Regions from separate parts of the Homo sapiens genome. Here all the other regions are linked to region 1. The links are contacts of gene promoters, found by promoter capture Hi-C in human tissues and cell types (Jung and others, 2019). All regions are on one chromosome and are shown on one strand. Each heading gives the region's core, a stretch centred on a gene start or on the middle of the fragment in contact. The rest is flanking DNA. Distances are from core to core; before and after follow the strand shown.

The links. Contacts are between HindIII fragments. The study calls those that stand out against the background at their distance.
Region 2: the fragment with the promoter of PICK1 here is called in contact with the fragment with the promoter of DNAL4 in region 1 in 3 of the 25 tissues and cell types used here (bladder, lymphoblastoid cells and mesenchymal stem cells).
Region 3: a contact is called between a fragment that was not itself captured here and the fragment with the promoter of DNAL4 in region 1, in 3 of the 25 tissues and cell types used here (H1 embryonic stem cells, dorsolateral prefrontal cortex and lymphoblastoid cells).
Region 4: a contact is called between a fragment that was not itself captured here and the fragment with the promoter of DNAL4 in region 1, in 5 of the 25 tissues and cell types used here (adrenal gland, bladder, heart left ventricle and 2 more).
Region 5: a fragment that was not itself captured here is called in contact with the fragment with the promoter of DNAL4 in region 1 in 2 of the 25 tissues and cell types used here (lymphoblastoid cells and mesenchymal stem cells).
Region 6: a fragment that was not itself captured here is called in contact with the fragment with the promoter of DNAL4 in region 1 in 1 of the 25 tissues and cell types used here (lymphoblastoid cells).
Region 7: the fragment with the promoter of TAB1 here is called in contact with the fragment with the promoter of DNAL4 in region 1 in 4 of the 25 tissues and cell types used here (adrenal gland, dorsolateral prefrontal cortex, lymphoblastoid cells and 1 more).

The regions. Positions count from the first base shown.
Region 1 is chr22:38,792,885-38,795,584 of GRCh38, forward strand. It overlaps DNAL4 (dynein axonemal light chain 4), which reads right to left and starts at 1,259. Exons shown (of 4, transcript NM_005740.3): 1 at 1,184-1,259. RefSeq lists a silencer at 1,001-1,450. The HindIII fragment of the contact is 13,707 bases long and covers 1-2,700 here.
Region 2 is chr22:38,056,030-38,058,729 of GRCh38, forward strand. PICK1 (protein interacting with PRKCA 1) reads left to right here and starts at 1,375. Exons shown (of 13, transcript NM_012407.4): 1 at 1,375-1,558; 2 at 1,724-1,821. The coding sequence starts at 1,781. RefSeq lists enhancers at 827-1,452, 1,149-1,208, 1,453-2,076. The HindIII fragment of the contact is 14,484 bases long and covers 1-2,700 here.
Region 3 is chr22:39,482,786-39,485,485 of GRCh38, forward strand. All of the region lies in intron 1 of MGAT3 (beta-1,4-mannosyl-glycoprotein 4-beta-N-acetylglucosaminyltransferase), which reads left to right. Among named protein-coding and RNA genes, the nearest start is that of MGAT3-AS1, 7.3 kb to the left of the region's middle. The HindIII fragment of the contact is 5,623 bases long and covers 1-2,700 here.
Region 4 is chr22:39,378,439-39,381,138 of GRCh38, forward strand. The region is part of intron 3 of SYNGR1 (synaptogyrin 1); the gene reads left to right. Among named protein-coding and RNA genes, the nearest start is that of TAB1, 20 kb to the right of the region's middle. The HindIII fragment of the contact is 3,186 bases long and covers 1-2,700 here.
Region 5 is chr22:38,094,347-38,097,046 of GRCh38, forward strand. It overlaps BAIAP2L2 (BAR/IMD domain containing adaptor protein 2 like 2), which reads right to left. Exons shown (of 14, transcript NM_025045.6): 7 at 2,686-2,700. Among named protein-coding and RNA genes, the nearest start is that of SLC16A8, 12 kb to the left of the region's middle. The HindIII fragment of the contact is 3,515 bases long and covers 1-2,700 here.
Region 6 is chr22:39,419,130-39,421,829 of GRCh38, forward strand. TAB1 (TGF-beta activated kinase 1 (MAP3K7) binding protein 1) reads left to right here. Exons shown (of 11, transcript NM_006116.3): 7 at 390-501; 8 at 2,698-2,700. Among named protein-coding and RNA genes, the nearest start is that of TAB1, 21 kb to the left of the region's middle. The HindIII fragment of the contact is 5,458 bases long and covers 1-2,700 here.
Region 7 is chr22:39,398,489-39,401,188 of GRCh38, forward strand. TAB1 (TGF-beta activated kinase 1 (MAP3K7) binding protein 1) reads left to right here and starts at 1,292. Exons shown (of 11, transcript NM_006116.3): 1 at 1,292-1,347. The coding sequence starts at 1,315. RefSeq lists an enhancer at 1,231-1,350 and a silencer at 1,511-1,650. The HindIII fragment of the contact is 8,049 bases long and covers 1-2,700 here.

The sequences.
Region 1 (2,700 bases), core at 9-2,508:
CACATAAACAAGTAACAGTCATTTATTACCATTATCAAGTATGATGTCCTGTACACAATTGTATGTGCTATATTTTATATGACTGGCAGCACTGTAGGTTTGCTTACACCAGCATCACCACACACGTGAGTCATGCATTTTGCTTTGACATTACGATAGCTATGTAACTAGGTGATAGAAATTTGTCAGCTCCATTATAACCTTAGGGCACCACCGTGGTATCTGTGGTCTTTCTTGACCAAAACGTTGTTATATGGTACATGACTGTATTTCAATCTCCATCTGTCCCCTCCCCACCCCTAAGTAACCCTAACCATGGAAGCCCAGGAGGAAGATCAGAGAGGGTCAACTGGAGAAATGACAGTTCATGCTGACCGGGTTGATAACATTTCCCAGAGAGGGAAAATGTGGTGAAGAGACAAAGGAAAGAAACTAACAAATACTGAATCTATACTGGACTGGACTCTGTACTTCATATTAGCCTCAGAATTACCAAAGGAGATGCACCGACGTATACTGATTTTACATATGCACTGATTAAAAGCGCAGGGAGGGTAGGTCTTGAGACTGGGAATCCAAATTAGGTTTGCCAAGTTATTTTCACAATACACGATACCTCCCATTGGGGAGCACATCCTCTCGGAAGCCTAAAGTTGGGTCAAAGAACAACGACATCCTAGAACGTCAGAGTGGAAGAGGCCTTAGAGATCACTCAACTCAACTTCTCATTTACAGATGGGGAAACTGAGGCCCAAACAGGGGAAATGACCAGCCCAGAATCCCAGTAAGTCGCCAACTCTCCAAGCCAAGAGCGGTCTGACCTAGTTGATGGCGACCCCGCGGGAGAGGGAATTACTCCGCGAAAGGTCGAGGGATCAAGGTGCTGGGGGAAGTCGGCTAAAGGGGGACGCGGGACCACGAAGCTGGGCAGGCCTTGGGTGGGTGGGGAAGAGCAGCCGGCAGAGTCGCGATGGCAAACCTGTCACGACAGAGCTCGCAGGTCCCGAAGTGGGGGTGAGGGTGGGGGTTGAGGATGGGAAGACCTGGGGCAGGGGAACAGCAGGCAGGAGACCGAGGTGGGGCCTCGGCGGCGGGCGAGGCCTCTTCCGCCCTGCGTTGCCTCCCGCCCTCCCTCCGGGCCGGCCCTCCCCGCCTGGCTGCCCGCCGCGCCCCGGGGCCTCACCTGCTCCTGCGGGGGCCGGAGCCGGGGCCGCAGCCAGCGAACCCCCGCCAGGGTTGTCAAGGAGCGAAACAAGAGTGTCTTAGCAACCAGCAAGGAAGTCCTGCCCCCTCACCGGACGTTGACGAGAATTTCACTTATTATTGGTGGATAAAAGTATCAATCAGAGTGAAAGGCCCTTATAAGTCAGGCGTTTGCAAGGACAGGGGCGTGGTTTAGAGGCCAGGGAGGCGGGACTTCACTTATAGTTGTCTTAAGCGTGCCCGAGGAGCAGGGGACACATTGAAGTTCTTTTTCTAGGGAAACAAACTTCGAAAAGCAGTACTGCCTTGGGAGGTTCTTTTAGTCACTTGAAATAACAAATGCAACTTGTTGGTGTCGTGACACTTAGCCACTACTTTATTGGGATCTGAAAAGCCTGATAATAACTAGCATTTTTGTAGGGCTGTACAATTAATATCTCACTTGATTCTCATTACAGTACTTTTAGGTGATAATATTCGTCATCCCATCTGAACTAAAGTTCAGAGAGGTTAAGTAACTTGGTAAAGGATGGAGGTAATCTCCCTGGAGAAGGAACCCAGGGGCTCCTTCCTCTGTGCCACACCCTTGTATGGTCACCTAGCTCTAGTCACTAGGAGACATTTGTACCACCTAATTTCAGACACAGTTGCCCAGAGCCTGCCTTTTCTTCCCCTTGGGAGGGAAAATTAATCCGAAAGTACGGAGAAGGAAAAGGGGAAAGGGGAAGAACTGGCGGATTCTATTATTTGATTGGTAGATCAAAGGGTCAGTTGGGTACTTCGTAGTTTAAACCTTTATTATTGTGATGAGTACTTGGGGTGAAACCCCACTGCCACATTTACTAGCATTGAAGCTGTCTTTGCCAAAATTATAACTGAGGAAATTATGACAGTGAAAGAGATCAGACCTAACCCACTCCATCTTGCCTTTCTAGCCTTTAAGCTGTCTTTGTTCATTCCTAGGCATAGGCTGAACGAACCTTGGGAAGGAATTTAGTTTATAGTTTTACTCTGAAACAAAATTGACAATAGCCCTTTCCCAAAAAGGCTCCCTTCCTGCCTTGGGACCAGTCTGCCTTTGTAGGACTAACAAATTAGCTACAACATTAGAAATTATGGTTTAGGGGTCACACAGCAGCCTCTGGCTGCAAGAGTCTGAACCTTCCCAAATTGCTCCTGGGGATAACATCACTATTGTAAAACCTAAGATCAGCGCTTGAGATATTTTGCAGACCCTGCGCTCGATGGATCAGCTGACACCACCCAGACCAGTAATGTGGCTCAAACAGTTCTGTGATCCCACCCAGGAACAGAAGACAGCAAGAAAACCTCACTTCGACCCCCTCAGTATTCCATCTTCGACTTAATCAATCAACACTCCTCGCTTGCCAAGCCCCTACCCACAAAATTATCTTTAAAACCTCTGATCCCTGAATGCTTGGGTAGCATATTCAACTGCCTCCTAGCCATGTGCACCAGAATGTTCCACAAGCCCTT
Region 2 (2,700 bases), core at 125-2,624, 740 kb before region 1:
GTGCGCCACCGCACCTGGCCTTAGACTGCTGCTTTTTGAAACCAAAATTCTGGCCTGGAAACAGAGCTTGGTTTTCCCAGCCCCAGCCCTGCCGCTATGATACCAGAGGAAGAGGCTTCCCAGGGCCTCCGTTTCCTTGCCTGCACAATGTGGCTGGCAAGATTTGGTCTTCTCTCACAGGGTGGTGGTGAGCTTTCAAATCCTGTGAAAGTGATCTCACAGGAGAGCAGTGGACACGTGGGAAGGCTGTTATTGTCACGGCATTCTGCACATCTGTCCGGACTCAATTAGCCACCTAAGGAGAGAGTAGGGCGGGGCTTCCACCGGCCGTGGGATATGTGGATAATCATCCTTCTGTATCTTTCTTCCATGGCTCCTGGGGCAGCTGGGGAAGCAAGCTGGATGGGCCTGGCCCCATGCTGCCGGATGAGGTGGATGCCTGGCTGTGGCTCTGGGAGAGCCAACCTCCCCCAGGGAACCCACTTTACACAATAGCAGTGGCAGCAGAGGCTGGCGAGGAGACAAGATTCGGACTCTGGGGAGCACTGATAGCATTTCCCGAGCCTCAGGTACATGCGGACCGTGACCCTCCCTGGGACCCCAGGGGGGCTGCTCCTCAGGACTAAGGAAGGAGGAGGGGGTGTGAGAAACCTTTCACCATATACCATAGAAAGCATTTACCTCAATGGCCTTGGTTTACATATGGGGAAACTGAGGCACATAAAGGGAAGGGAGCATGTCCAGTCTGTCCTTAATAGCAAGACCCACTGAATACACCTCTCCTGGCTCTCTGTTTAGTGTTTGGACGTTCAAAGATCCCTAGACTAGGCGGCGGGAGTTTCAGGGCCACGATCCAGATCTTACACCAACTGTGTGTGGCCCCGCACAAAATCACTCCCCGCTCTTTGGCACTTAAGTTGGCGAAACTGGGATGGGCTGGGACCTCAAAGGGCCATTCTAGTAGGGGAGTCACAGGCCCAGGTGGTGAAGGGGTGAAAGGGCATGATGTCTTGGGGTTTATAGTCCACTGAGCCTCGCCGGAGGTAACCCCGGCTCAGGGATGCTTTCGTTGCCATGGCAACCGCCGGGCCGGCGCGGGCCCCTGAGTGCAGCTGAGGAAGCTGGGACAAACCCTGCCCTTCCCAAGATGGCGGCGGCGGCAGGGCAAAGGGCGGGGTTAGACGCTGTCAGCCTGTCCAGACCGTTCCTCTGTTTTCGCTTGTTCCTACTAACAGCGAGCTTCCGCCAATACTTGTTCTCGTTCTTGGTTCCGAGCGTCCCGGGAGCCGGGAAGGGAAGGATTGTCTGCAGGGATTGGAGCAAATATCCAGTGGGGGGAAAGCCGGGACTTCCGCGTCTTGCCGGAAGTGACGTGACAATCGCGGCCACCGCCAGGTGGAACGGCAGGTGGGTTCAGGTACCAGCCTGGCCGGGACCCGGCTGTGGGACCAACGCTTCCGGTGAGCGACAGAGGCAGCTCCCCAGGGCCTGGAGACCCGTGGGGCGGACTCTGGGATCTGAGCCTATCGCCCTGGCCTGGAGCCCCCCTTTGTACCTAGTAAGAATCACCTACCCAGCCCCCCACCCGGAGACTGTCCCATCCCACTCCAGAGGGAAGAGGAGGGCACTGCTGTCCCGTATGAGGTGGTGGAGGGAGGGGTGGCGTTGGCATTTAGGCACTTGGGTTCCTTAAATCCTATGCTCCTTTCTCTCCCGGATCCAGTTCCCCATTCCCCTACCGAGCTGGGCAGTTAGCCAGCCCACTCCAACTCTCGGAACCATGTTTGCAGACTTGGATTATGACATCGAAGAGGATAAACTGTGAGTATTTTATTCCCCCAAGTTCCAGCAGTATAGGAGCCCCAAGTTCCTCATTTCCCTGGACTTCCCAGTCCCACAGACCCTTGCTTCTCAGCGGTGGATCAGTTGTTGTACTGAAGCAGCAATGGACCCTGCTCTCCCAGGAGCTCACTATTTGTAGGGGGCTGTGGACAGTTAAAGGGATAATCACAGCTCAGTGCCATAAGGGCACTATTAGCATGACTTGGTGACAAGAAGAGCAAAGCAGATGGAGCAGTGCTTCTGCTGGGATGGTCAAGGAAAGCTTCATGGAGGACGTAGCAATTGAACCAGGTTTTGAAGGTTGAATAGGAATATTGTAGACACCCTTCCTTCCCAACATAGGTTGTTAGTAGGACAGATTTTCCCATTAGAATATATCCTCTTTCAGATCAAGGAGTGGGTGCAATGCCTTTCTCTATGCTCAGCACTTAGTAAGGGACTTGACGTCAGTAGGTTGTTAGCGAATGTTTTTTGAATGAATAAGTGAATCAGCGTGAGTACTTATCATAAAACACCAGTCAATGCTAATTTATAGTGGAAACCGAGAGGTAATCGAGCAGTTGAGAGGTGGGAGGTGGACAGTTTAATAGAGGAAGACTCCCTGGAGTAGGTGGCCATCATACTACATAGATGCCTGATAAGGTGACAAGGACAGAACCTGGCTCAAATCTCAGAGATCGAATAAATGAAAGGGAAGGGGGACCTATTTTTATGGAGTGCCTGCTATGGACTGGGTTGCTGTTAGTGCCCTCCATGCATGGTTAGAAGAACTCTGATAAGGGTGCTCATCCACATTTTATGGATGAGGAAATTGAGATGCACAGAGGCTGACTTACCCAAGTCCCATAGCTGGCCAGG
Region 3 (2,700 bases), core at 2-2,501, 690 kb after region 1:
GCCTGAGTGATGAGGGAAACATGCCCAGATCCTTGATTCTCAGCAGCAACCCAGACTGAGGCCTTATTAAGGGGCCCTGTCCTGAAGGCTCCAGTGACTGAGAGGGGAGCTCCCAAGCACTGGTGAGTCCGTGCTCAGAAGGGCACAGCTGGCTATGAGTAACTAGATCCTGAAAGCCAGCCAAGGGGCAGCTGGGTCAATCTGACCTCAGCAGGTCCACGGAGGCCCTTTACGCCAAGCAGGCTGTTTCCTTGCCTCTCTGAGTTCCTCTTACCTTGCTTTGCTAAAGCCTTTGTTCATGCTGCCAGGGGATTTAGAGTCTGAATGGCAGCCCCAGGCCATGCCTGCCACATAGCTTACACCAGTTGTGTAACTTAGAGTGTCCCCCTCAGAGGCAGGTCCCAAGTACAGAAAAATAGCCCACTAAGGCTAGGCACAGTGGCCCACACCTGTAATCCCAGCACTCTGGGAGGCCAAGGCGGGCAGATCACCTGAGGTCAGGAGTTCGAGACGAGCCTGACCAACATGGTGAAACCCCACCTCTACTAAAGATACAAAATTAGCCGGTGTAGTGGTGCATGTCTGTAGTCCCAGCTACTCAGGAGGCTAAGGCGGGAGAATTGCTTGAGGCAGAGGTTGTGGTGAGCTGAGATCGCACCATTGCACTCCAGCCTGGGCAACAAGAGCAAAACTCCGTCTCAAAAAAATTAAAAAATTAAAAAAAAAAAGAAAAGAAAAATAGCCCACCAGAAGGATCCAGGCTGCCTTTCCAAGTCCTGAAACCCCAAGAGTAGGTTGCTCTGGAAGCTTCCGCCATGCTAACCCCGGCTGCAGTATTGCCTTGTGTCTGGTCCTGGCCACAGCACTCCTAGCCCCTTTTGCTCACCCAGCTGGTCCAGCCCAACTGGTCTCACTTTGCCAGACAAGGGCTGGAATCCAAAATGGAGAATGAAGTGCAGAAGACCCACTTCAAAATGTTATCAAGGAGCAGCCCCTCCTTCCAAACTCCAGTGGCGAACAGCCCCAGCTCTGCCCTGGGACATTTAGCAGAGGTCAGGCCCCTACCCCAGATTGTTCTACCTGCCCGCAGTCAGCTGTGCCCACTCCGTGTGGACAGCTCCAGGGGGGCAGGCGTTTACTGGAGGAGGGATATCTGAGCTCGAATGGGGCAAACGCTGCCCTGATTGTCGGGATCAGCAGCTCCACTGCTTCTTACCAGCCTGCTCAGGACTCCTCGCAAGCTGAGGTCATGAGGGGCACCTGGTGCAGGAGCCCAGCTGCCCGGTTCACACTCCAGCTCTGTTGTGACTTTGGGCAGGTCCCTGAAGGCCCCTAGGTCCTGGTTTCCTCCTCTATAAAATGAAAGAGTTGGAGGAGATGGTCCTTAAAATTTCTAGATCAATCGTGTTGTGATTCTGTGCCTTACGACCATGTGGCTTGTAGAAAATTAAACTGCGGGCATCCAGCCTTGAGCATTGAAGGGAACAAGAGCTTATTGAGCATGCTGCATGCCAGGAACTCTGTGCCCATTTCACAGATGGAGAAACTAAGGTTCAGAATGATTAGGAGCCTTGTTTTTTTTTGTTTGTTTGTTTGTTGTTTTTTGAGACGGAGTCTCACTCTGTTGCCCAGGTTGGAGTACAGTGGTGCGATCTCGGCTCACTGCAACCCCCACGTCCCTGGTTCAAGCGATTCTCCTGCCTCAGCCTCCCTAGTAGCTGGGATTACAGGTGCCCACCACCATGACTAGCTAATTTTTGTATTTTTAGTAGTGACAGGGTTTCACAATGTTGGCCAGGCTGGTCTCAAACTCCTGACCTCTGGTGATCCACCTGCCTCAGCTTCCCAAAGTGCTGGGATTACAGGCGTGAGCCACCACGCCTAACCCAAATTCCTATCTTTCCACCCTACCTTGCTGTCCTTAAAAAGTAGGGAGGCTGGCCATGGTGGTTCATGCCTGTAATCCCAGCACTTTCAGAAGCTGAGGCGGGCAGATCACTTGAGGTCAGGAGTTCAAGGCCAGCCTGGCCAACGTAGTGAAACCACATCTGCACTAAAAATACAAAAGTTATCAGGGCATGGTGGCACACGCCTGTAATTCCAGCTACTTGGGAGGCTGAGGCAAGAGAATTGCTTGAACCTGGTAGATGGAAGTTGCAGCGAGCCAGGATCTAGCCACTGCACTTCAGCCTGGGTGACAGAGTGAGACCCTGTCTCAAAAAAAAAGTGAGGGGGAGAGCATGACCCAGAGAAAGAATCAAAAATAAAGAGAAGCCACAGATGGGAACATTTTAAGAATATCTAGGTGGGACAGTGCCAGATGCCAAAGGCAAGGTTTCTGTCTCAGCCTTTTCTGTGACTCAGTGGGTTCCCCCCGGACAGGTCACTGGTCTCACTTGGCCCCACCCAGCATCTTCACTGGTCAAATGGATGTAAACTCCTGGCTCGCCTGCCCACCTGCCTAGACTCAAGGGTGAAATGAGCTGGATGGCTACGGTCGGAGGTGCTCTGTGGCTGCACGGCTCATTCATAAAACGAGGGATCCAAATCCAGCATGGGGTTTGGCTGATGGTGACATTCTGATGTCCGTTTCCTAGTTGTGACAAATGTACCATGGTGGTATAAACTGGGAGCAACAGGGTGAAGTGTGTGAGGAAGCCTCTGTGCTGTCTTTGCACCTTTTCTGATAATCTACAAATA
Region 4 (2,700 bases), core at 165-2,664, 590 kb after region 1:
CTTTAAGAGTAATTCTCATGTGATGAATCCTTGTTCCTCCAAAGGATTTTGGTCTCTGGTTCTACACAGGTTTCCTGCTTGAGGCCCCCAGCTGCCTGGGCAGGAACTCACCCATTCCTCCACTCTCTGCTGGAGTTGAGGAGGCTGGTGGAGCACAGACAGTTCCCCCAAAGCAATGCCTCAACCCTGCGAGGGCCTGAGCACATCGAGAGTGAGCTTCCTGGCACTGGAGGCATCCCAGTGCAGATGCAGACTGCCTGCTGCACGCTGGAGATGCTGCAGAGAGAGCACCTACACTGAGAAAGTGGGGCCAGGGGACCACCAGGTCCCTGGGCTCTCAGTAGAACTCCCATCCTCCCTCTGCAGCCCAGGCCAGCGGGGGCCCAGGCCTCTCCTTTGCTCCTGTCTTGTGGCCCCTTAAACTGGTTGCCCAAATGAAGCTTTGACTTAGTGAGGGCAGAGAGCTGAACACAGAGACAGTATGAGTGCCTACAGCCAGAGGCATCTCCCTAGAAGGATCAGTAGGGGTCATCTGCTCCAGCCCTCTGCCTCTGTACAGGAAACCAGCCTGGATAGTAGAGCCAGGGAGCTCGGGGAGAACCGCGTCTACAGACATTGCTCTCAAGGTTCATTCAGTCAGTTCCTGTGGGCTGGCCAGGGCTCAAGTGTACCCTCAGGGGGCTCTTCACCTCCCCTGCTTCTTCAGGCTCCGGCGTCTGAGCCCCCAGCAGCCAGGACCTCATGCTAACATAGTGGGAAACCCCAGAGGGCTACACCTTATCCCTTAGCCCAATTTCTTTAGACCTAGTCTGCCTTTCCCAAGGTGCTGGCACTTTGCTTTAAATACCCACCTCCCAGAAAGTGCTTCCCCTCAGAACTTTGGTCAATGAGTACAATCAAAAGGTAATGCCCTAGCTGGGCATGGTGGCTCATGCCTGTGATCCCAGCACTTTGGGAGGCCAAGGCAGGCGGATCACCTGAGGTCAGGAGTTTGAGACCAGCCTGGCCAACATGGCAAAACCCCGTCTCTACTAAAAATACAAAAATTAGCTTGGTGTGGTGGCGGGTACCTGTAATCCCAGCTACTTGGGAGGCTGAGGCAGGAGAATCACTTGAACCCAGGAGGCAGATGTTGCAGTGAGCCAAGGTTGTGTCATTGCACCCCATCCTGGGTGACAGAGCGAGACTCTGTCTCAAAAAAAAAAAGAAAAAAAAAAAGGAAATGCCCAGTCACTGGGTTTCTGGAACTTTGTGGAATAAAACGCTAGGTATATTCACTCTCTACCTCTTCACTAAGTGGCTCTTTAGGTTGTTGGTTGACTTAGTGCCTCGTCAGGGGCCAGTGAAAGGGAAGGAGGTGAGGGCGCCCTGACCTGGGAAGGGGTAGGACCCCATGTTTAGGGAAGGGTTCTAGCAGTAACTCTGCCACGGGCACTTCCTTTTCTAGGCCTCAATCTTCCCAGCCCTAAAACAGGGGTCTGGAGAGTATCAGCACATTCCCATCACAGGCAGATTCCCCGGGCCGGGAAAGTTTCTGGAGAAGGCTTTTGCAATAAACCTCTAAGCTGCTTTTCTAATGACAAGTTTGATTTACTTAAACTTTGACTTAGCTCAGTGTGGTCAGTGTCATTGTCCTTAATAACAATGTAATTGCTTTTATTGAAAAATAATTTCCTAACCATGCATGTGTGCTGTAGACAAGTCTTTCCCAATCTGAGATCTGTGAAAAAAAAAAAAAAAACGGGGCGGCTTCAGGCTAGGCGCGGTCACATTGAATAGTCAGGGCTCTGCCAAGTCAGATGATCCTGAAACTTGTTTCACTCTATTTAACTCAGTTTCTCACTTAGAATTAGGTTCAGCAGCAGGTGACCGAAATCCCAGATAACAGTGATTTCAACAAAGTCCAAGGCTGTGGAAGTGGTCCAGGGCTGGCATACTGGCTCCAGAGGTCTTCGGTGACCCAGGCATCTTTCCTTTTTTTTAGAGACAGGGTCTCACTCTGTTGCCCAGGCTGGATCATAGCTCACTGCAGCCTCAAACCCATAGGCTCAGGCAATCCTCCCACCTCAGCCTCCTGAGTAGCTGGGACTACAGGCCAGTACCACTATGCCCGGCTAATTTGGTTTTTGTGGATTTTTTTGGTAGAGATGGGGTCTTGCTATGTTGCCCAAGCTGGCCTTTTTTTTTTTTTTTTTTTTTTTTGAGACAGTCTCACTTTGTTGCCCAGGCTAGAGTGCAGTGGCGCTGTCTCAGGGTACTGCAACCTCCGCCTCCTGGGTTCAAGCGATTCTCCTGCTTGCACCTCCCGAGTAGCTGGGATTACAGGTGATGCCACCATGCCCAGCTAATTTTTTTAATTTTCAGTAGAGATGGGGTTTCACCATGTTGGCCAGGCTGGTCTCAAACTCCTGACCTCAAGTAATCTGCCCATCTTGGCCTCTCAAAGTGCTGGGATTGCAAGCATGAGTTGTCGCGCCTGGCCTCTCCTGCTTTCAAGAAGAAGATCAGATTGTTATTGTGCCTGCTGTTTTTCAAGTGCCTTTAACTCAACATAGTCAATATGCCAGAGGTGCATATTTTAGCCCAGGCTGGTCTTGATCTCCTGGCCTCAAGCAATCCTTCCACCTTGGCCTATCAAAGTTGTGGGATTACAGGCATGAGCCGCGGTGCATGGCCCCCAGGCATCTTTCATTCCTACAG
Region 5 (2,700 bases), core at 58-2,557, 700 kb before region 1:
GGCTAACTTTTGTATTTTTAGTAGAGACGGGTTTTCACCATGTTGGCCAGGGTGGCCTCGAACTCCTGTCCTCAGGTGATCCACCCGCCTCGGCCTCCCACAGTGCTGGGATTACAGGTGTGAGCCACCGCGCCTGGCCGAGGTACTGGGTTACTGTGGTGGAGGGTATTGAAAATATTTTAAGCTTGATAGTGGTGATGGATGCATGACTCTGTGAATATACTACAAACCAGAAAGTGTACACTGTAAATGGGTGAATCGTATGTGAATTATATCTCAATAAAACTGTTTTTCAAAAAAGGAAGTTGTTTCTCCCTGGCAGACCTTTTGTGGGATAGCAGGGGACGAGAAGGCTGAGCCTGGGGCCGGGTGAGGCGGTGACAGTGGGCAGATGAGAGCCTGAGCCGAAATCTGGGTCTTTGGATCCAGTCATGTATCCCTGGGCCCGTGGGTTCAGATCCAGAGACTCGGGGAGGGCGTGGGAGGCGTGGGAGGCGTGGGAGGGATAAGAACCCCAAGCCAGGACCGGGCGTGGTGGCTCATGCCTGTAATGCCAGCACTTTGGGAGGCCGAGGCAGGTGGATCACCTGAGGTCAGGAGTTCGAGACCACCCTGGCCAACATGGTGAAACCCTGTCTCTACTAAAAATACAAAAATTAGCTGGGCATGGTGGCGCACACCTGTAATCCCAGCACTTGGGAGGCTGAGGCAGGAGAATCACTTGAACCTGGGAGGTGGAGGTTGCAGGGAGCTGAGATTGCGCCACTGCACTCCAGCCTGGGCAACAGAGCAAGACTCCGTCTCAAAATAAATAAATACATACACACATAAATAAAATCAGTTTATCAAAATACAAGGGTCATGCTGCAGAGATGACTAGTGAGGTCTGAAACTAAGTCCTAAACTATCTTGGCAAAACCAGGAAGTGGAGGATGGGAAGGATGAAGACAGGAGTAAAAGCTTTCCAAAGGCCCCACCTCAGAATAGTTGGAGGGCAGGAAAATACTTCTTAAGGTATTATCTCATCTTTTTTTTTGAGACTTAGTCTCACTCTGTCGCCCAGACTGGAGTGCAGTGGCTTGATTTTGGCTCACTACAACTTCTGCCTCCCAGGTTCAAGCAATGCTCCTGCCTCAGCCTCCTGAGTAGCTGGGATTACAAGTGCCTGCCACCACGCCCAGCTAATTTTTGTATTTTTAGTAGAAACGGGGTTTCGCCATGTTGGCCAGGCTGGTCTCGAACTCCTGACCTCAAGCGATCCACCCACCTCGCGCTCCCAAAGTGTTGGGGTTACTGGTGTGAGCCACCGCGCCCAGCCTAATTTTTGTGGAAAGCTTTAAATCAAGGTCTCATCTTATGAATTGGCGGAGCGATGGACTGAACAGTGTGTGTCTGTAGTAGGGTGAAGTTGGCATTTTTGGAAAATAGGTGGATATATATGTGATTATGAAAGTCACAAAGTGAGGTCACCACAGGTAGAGAGAAAAAAATAGTGCAATTTCTAAATTAATAAAGGGAAAAGGGGAATGTATAGTATAATAACTCAACCAAACTGACAAGAAATAGTGTGGGAGAAAAAGAGGAAATGACAAAGTAAATACAGTTAGCTCAAGTTATCTAAAAGGAATAAAACCCAGGTATCTTCATTATTATGTTAAATGGGAATGGGCTGAATTCCTTTTCTATTAGAAGACACAGACTGTAAGACTGGTCAAAAACTCAAAAGTCAGTAACAGAAAGTATACTTAACATACAAAGAGATAAGCAAAGAGAAGAGAAAATAGAGCAGTATTAATATCAGACAAGGCGGAATTAAAAGCATCAAACTTAAGAGAGACATTAAGTACATAAATGGCAATATTTACAAAGAAGGTAGAATAGTTATAGCCAAAAAACGCCAAACAACATGGCAGCTCAATTCAGAAAGTGAAATCTATTAGAAATCCAATGAGAGATGAGAGAGTCTGACTAGTCTAGCAGACAGAACAATGCAAGAGCATAGAGGATTTAAATAATATGATAAAATGGCTGGGTATGGTAGCTCATGCCTGTAATCGCAGCACTTTGGGAGGCCGAAGCAGGCAGATCGCTTGAGGTCAGGAGTTTGAGATCAGCCTGGCCAACATGGCGAAACCCCGTCTCTACTAAAAATACAAAAATTAGCCGGGCGTGATAGCACATGCCTGTAGTCCCAGCTACTCGGGAGGCTGAGGCAGGAGAATCGCTTGAACCCGGGAGGGAGAGGTTGCAGTGAGCCGAGATTGTGCCGTTGCACTCCAGCCTGGGCAACAAGAGTGAAACTCTGTCTCAAAAAATAAATAAATAAATAATATGATAAAATTAATAGACGATAACTGAGCACACCTATCAATGAATTTGTGAATTGTGAGAATATACAAACAGGAATTAAAAAATGGTCCACACATGAATAAATAAATGCATGAATTCGTGAATGCATTAAAAACAAACAATATCACGAGTGAATAAATGAGTGAATATACAGTGATACAAGCAAACCCAGAAACAAAGGAAGAAATGGATGGAGATAGCAAAATAAAATGAATTTCTACAGACAGGCAGGCAGGGAGGGAAGAGGGAAGAAGGGAGGGAAACCTCTATGTACGGCCACTCAGGAGGGGGCAGCTCCTAGAAGCGCCCCGCTTGCTGCCCCCCAGTCCAACTCACCCGGCCGAAGAACTG
Region 6 (2,700 bases), core at 100-2,599, 630 kb after region 1:
ACACAGAAGACACTTACTGTTATTGGTGGAGACTGAAAGAGGCCAAAGAAGTCCAGGGAGCCCAGCTGCTGCTGAGCTGCTCCTTCCCTTCCCAGTGAGCTCCAGGCAGATGTGGGGCACACGGGATGGGCAGGGAGACGGCAGGCAAGCTGCTCCGTGCCAGGTGGTGCCTGGAGGACGGGCTCTGAGTGAGGTGTGTCGTGATGGGCGTGGGGACTGAGGACACCAGGGACTTTGGGTCAGCTGCTCTCCCAGGTGCCCTGGTGTTGTCTTCATTTCCTATTCAGTGGGTCCTTATTGCCTTCTTCCCATGACTGTGTCTCTGTCCCCTTCTTTTTGTTCCTCTTTGTGAACAAGAAGCAGGATTGTTGCACTGTTTCCCTCCGTAGGCTTGGATGCTGGAAAGATCAAGCAGGTGGGGATCATCTGTGGGCAGGAGAGCACCCGGCGGATCGGGGATTACAAGGTTAAATATGGCTACACGGACATTGACCTTCTCAGGTAGGTGCCAGCCCAGCTGTCCCCTGTGCTTGAAAGAACAGAAGGTCCTAGGGAGGCCAAGATGGGAGGATTGATTGTGCTGGGAGGTCGAGGCTGCAGTGAGCCGTGATCATGCCACTGCACTCCAGCCTGGGCAACAGAGCAAGACCCTGTCTCAAAAAAAAAAAAAGGTCCAGAAGGCCTGGGGCAGACGCAGACTGTAGGCCCCAGTGACACATGTGCAGTCAAAGTAGTTCAGAGCCCAGGCAAACTCTTTCTTCCTCCCAGAGAGGTTGGTTTGGGGCAGGTTAGGCCCAGCAGGCCAGGAGTTGGGTACTGTAGAAACAAGGGGTGGAGTTGAGCTGGGCCAAAGCTGAGGGCAGCAACTAGTGCCACAAGGGAGGCAGGCGAAGCCAGAGTTGGCATGGGATGGACAGACCAGGCCTGTTGGTCGGTGCTGCCCATGGCTGCAGCAGAGGTGTGAGATGAATTGTGTATTTCCCTCTGAGGACACCTCCTCTGGACATCACCCCAGCGCTCATGGCAGCAGAATGGGCAGTCATCATCACACGGCCAAGCCCGTGCAGAGCTCTGGATGTACCTTCTTTTATGCATTCCCTACTCAGGCCCCCTGAGGCAGTCACTGCCATCACCCCAGAGGCATTTTCATAAGAGGAAACTGAGGCATGGAGACATCAGGCAGCCCACCCTGGTCATGGGGCTTGAACACAGGCAGCCTGAATTTGGAATATGTGTCCTTAACCGTCAGGTAACCTGTATGTGAAGTGTTGGTTGGGGAGATAGGCGCGTCCACTTGCCTGATGCCAATCATGGCATTTAATGTCATGGCCAAGGCTGTTCCCAAAGCCAGAGTTCCCATCAACAGAGGCCTCATGGCCTAGAAAGTGCATGTTAGAACTCCTTGCCCTCACGCGATCTAGGCAACTGAGTGTCGAATATTTGTCCCTAATTTGTGGGGTCCTGTTTCCTTTATTGGAAAGGACATCCATAGTTTAAAACACTTCAGACAGTGCTGGGGTCTATACAGGGAAAGGAAGTCTTCCTACACCACACTCTAGGACTCGCTGCCTCCCCAGAGGCTGCTAGTTTCTTGTGTATCCTGTTCCAAAATCTGGCCACATGCACATATACACACACGGTGTCTCTGTGTGTGTGTGTGTGTGTGTGTGTGTGTGTGTGTGTGTGTGTTTGTCCTGGGGGCCAAGGAGCCTGCATCCTTTTCGGAACACCCAGGTGCTGGGGTGTCTCTCTCTGTGTGTGTGTGTGTGTGTGTGTGTGTGTGTGTGTGTGTGTGTGTTTGTCCTGGGGGCCAAGGAGCCTGCATCCTTTTCGGAACACCCAGGTGCTGGTGTGTCCTGCCCCTCCCAGGTGCTGGTGTGTCCTGCCCCTCCCAGGTGCTGGTGTGTCCTGCCCCTCCCAGGTGCTGGTGTGTCCTGCTCCTCCTTCTTTTCTTTTTTTTTAAACCCTAAGGTGTAATTGGCATATGCAAAGCTGTGCCTATTTCATGCATACAACTTGATGAGTTTGGAGATATGTTTACACACCCCTCACTGCTATCATTAAAGGTGCTCATCTCTTCATTCTGCTCACCTGCAGTTAGGATGGCGTCATTCTGTGTAATAACCGCTCCCAGGGCCCAGCCCTGGCTGACGGACCCTCAGGAAGTTCTTAGACTCCGCTCTTCTGGATGGTGTTGCCAGCACCTCCTCATGTACTTACCTCCATGTGCACACACATGTGTTGGCATGTAATGACTCTGACCCCAGTCACTAAAGGATCCCTGTACACATGGAGAGTATCTGGGGTCTCAGCCATCTGTTTTGGAAAAGCCCAAATAATAGCAAGAGGCTTGGGCTCCCAGGGATAATCCCTCCCTCTTGCTGTCCCACACCCTGCCCTGCCACCACCGGACCCTGTGAACAGGACGTATGGAACAGGCCAGAATCGGGCATTCAACCTTTGCCATCCTGACCTCAGCTGCCTGCCAGTTTTTATGGCCTTCCAAGCTTTATTTTAGCAGCTGCTGTAAGACGATGGGTCTATTTTTCTGACCTTCTCTTTCTCTCTTTTCTTTTCCTCTTGTCAGGTTGTGTGTTTTATTTTACATTCTGGGCATAGATTCCTCCCCTCAGCAGAATCAGCATCCACCTGCGGGCTGTTCCAAGCAAAGCTCTTCCTTCCACTCTCTCCCCATAGCGC
Region 7 (2,700 bases), core at 42-2,541, 610 kb after region 1:
TTGGAGTGCAGTGGAGTGATCTCAGCTCACTCACTGCAACCTCCACCTCCCAGGTTCGTGATTCTCCTGCTTCAGCCTCCCAAGTAGCTGGGATTACAGGCGTGCACCACCATGCCTGGCTAATTTTTTGTAGTTTTAGTAGAGATGGGGTTTCACCATGTTGGCTGGACTGATCTCGAACTCCTGACCTCAGGTGATCCACCGGCCTCGGCCTCCCAAAGTGCTGGGATTACAGGCATGAGCCACCGCGCCTGCCCCCGGCAGAATGTCTTATATACATAAATGTTGTCCTCTCCAATTAAAATGTTAACATTTTAGGTTGGGCGGGGTGGCTCACACTTGTAATCCCAGCACTTTGGGAGGCCCAGGCAGAAGAATCGTTTTAGGCCAGGAGTTTGAGACCAGCCTGGCCAACATAGCGGTACTCCGTCTCTACAAAAAATGTAAAAGATTAGCTGGGCGTGGTGGCGGGCGCCTGTAACCCCAGCTACTCGGGAGGCTGAGGCAGGAGAATCGCTTCAACCCGGGAGGCAGAGGTTGCAGTGAGTCCAGATCACGCCACTGCATTCCAGCCTGGGCGACAGAGCAAGCCTCCGTCTCAAAAATAACATAACATAACATAACATAAAATAATAATAAAATGAAATGAAATAAAATAAAATAAAATGTTAGCTTTTTGAAGGCCTGTCCTGCTCGCTGCAGAACCCACTATAGAGCCAAGCAGGGTCACCTAGGTAGCATTTGCTGAGTGAATGAATTGTCCTCCCCTTACCAACTGTGTTCACAAAGAACCCTCAGGAGTTCAAGACCAGCCTGGCCAACATGGCGAAACCCCGTTTCTACTAAAAATACAAAAATTAGCCGGGCGTGGTGGCTCATGCCTGTAGTCCCGGCTACTCCGGAGGCTGGGGCAGGAGAGGCGGGCACCTGTAATCCCAGCTACTCGGGAAGCTGAGGAAGGAGAATCGCTTGAGGCCGGAAGGCAGAGGTTGCAGGGAGCTGTGATCGCGCCACTGCACTCCAGCCTGGGTGACAGAGTGAGACCCTATCTCAAAAAATAATAAAGATGGGCGAGGAGCAATCGGCCCCGAGGAAAAGACAAAACAAAACAACAACAACAACAACAACAACAAAACGTGCAAGAGCGCGCCTGCGCACACGGTCCGCTACGACCCCCATCCCTCTTCGGGCGTGGGGTGGCGCTGGGCGCATGCTCCCCGGCAGCGCGGTCATCCTCGCCTCCTTCGGGCCGCTCTAGCCGCCCCACTCGCTGCTCTGCGGGGAGGCGGGCGCTCCCGCAGGGGTTCCTCCAAGATGGCGGCGCAGAGGAGGAGCTTGCTGCAGAGTGTGAGGAACAGGCCCGCTCTCTGGGCTTGGGGTTGGGAGCCTGGGCGGGGGTGCTGTCGGGTGCAGGAACGGCTCCTTCTCCGAGTTTGGACAGCCACCCTCTCCGTGGTGGGGTGTGTCAGCCACCTTCTCCTCTCCTCGGGCTGGCCCCCTCGTTCCCGAGGCCAGGGCGTGTGTGCGCGGCGGGCCCGGCCCCCGGGTCAAGGGCGCCGGGGCTGTGGGCTGCTGCTGCCGGGCGTCGAGGGCGGGAGCGTCCTGGAGCCAGAAGGGAACACGGCGGGCGGCAGCAGAGCTATCCGAGTCTCGAGCCCACTGCGACACCGAGCAGACGTGCAATGATAATAACAGCAGCATCCACAGTGTACCGCTTACTGCATCCCCGGCGTTGTGTTAATTGCTTTACATTTGTCAGTTTCATTTTCGTAGCAGCCCCCTGAGATAGGTGCTACTGTTATTCCTATTTGACAGACTGAGACACTGAGGTGGTCGTTTGCCTAAGGCCACACAAATGGTACGTATTGAGGCAGGATTAAAATCAGGCAGTGTGATTCCAGAAACCCCCTTAACCCCTGGGCTGTACTAAAGGAATGACCAGTGGTAGCTGTCACTGGGTTCTGGTCCTGGCTCTGACTGTGTCTCCCTCAGCCTCAGTTTCCTTCTCCTAAGGCGAGAGCGCTGAGTGGAAGAATTGTCTTCAGACTCATCCCTACCCCCGGTCTGGACCCTCATGGGTTTGGCGCTGTCTTCCAGGCCCTGCGTCCTCTGACGCGTATGTGCACATAGATGCACACACATGTTGGCACCATGGACTACTCTGACCTACCAGGGTAGGGTGCTGGCCTCCTGGGTCCTTCCTATGCATGGCACTGTTAGAATTGTCTATGGACTTGTCTGCCTCCTGTACTAGAAAGTAAACTCCGCCGGGCGCGGTGGCTCATGCCTGTAATCCCAGAACTATGGGAGGCTGAGGCGGGTGGATCACGAGGTCAGGAGATCAAGACCATCCTGGCCAACATGGTGAAACCCCGTCTTTACTAAAAATACAAAAATTAGCCGAGCGTGGTGGGGGCGCCTGTAGTCCCAACTATTCGGGAGGCTGAGGCAGGAGAATTAGCTTGAACACAGGAGGCGGAGCTTGCAGCGAGCCAAGATCGGGCCACTGCACTCCAGCCTGGAGCGACAGAGCGAGACTGTGTCTCAAAAAAAAAAAAAAAAAAAAAACGAAAGTAAACTCCTTGAGGACAGGGACCTGTGATCTCTTGTTTACCGCTGTGTCTCTATTATCTATCACCATGTGCTGGGCACTCAATAAATACATTTGTGAAAGGATGAGTAAAGGTTTGTAGCCAGGTC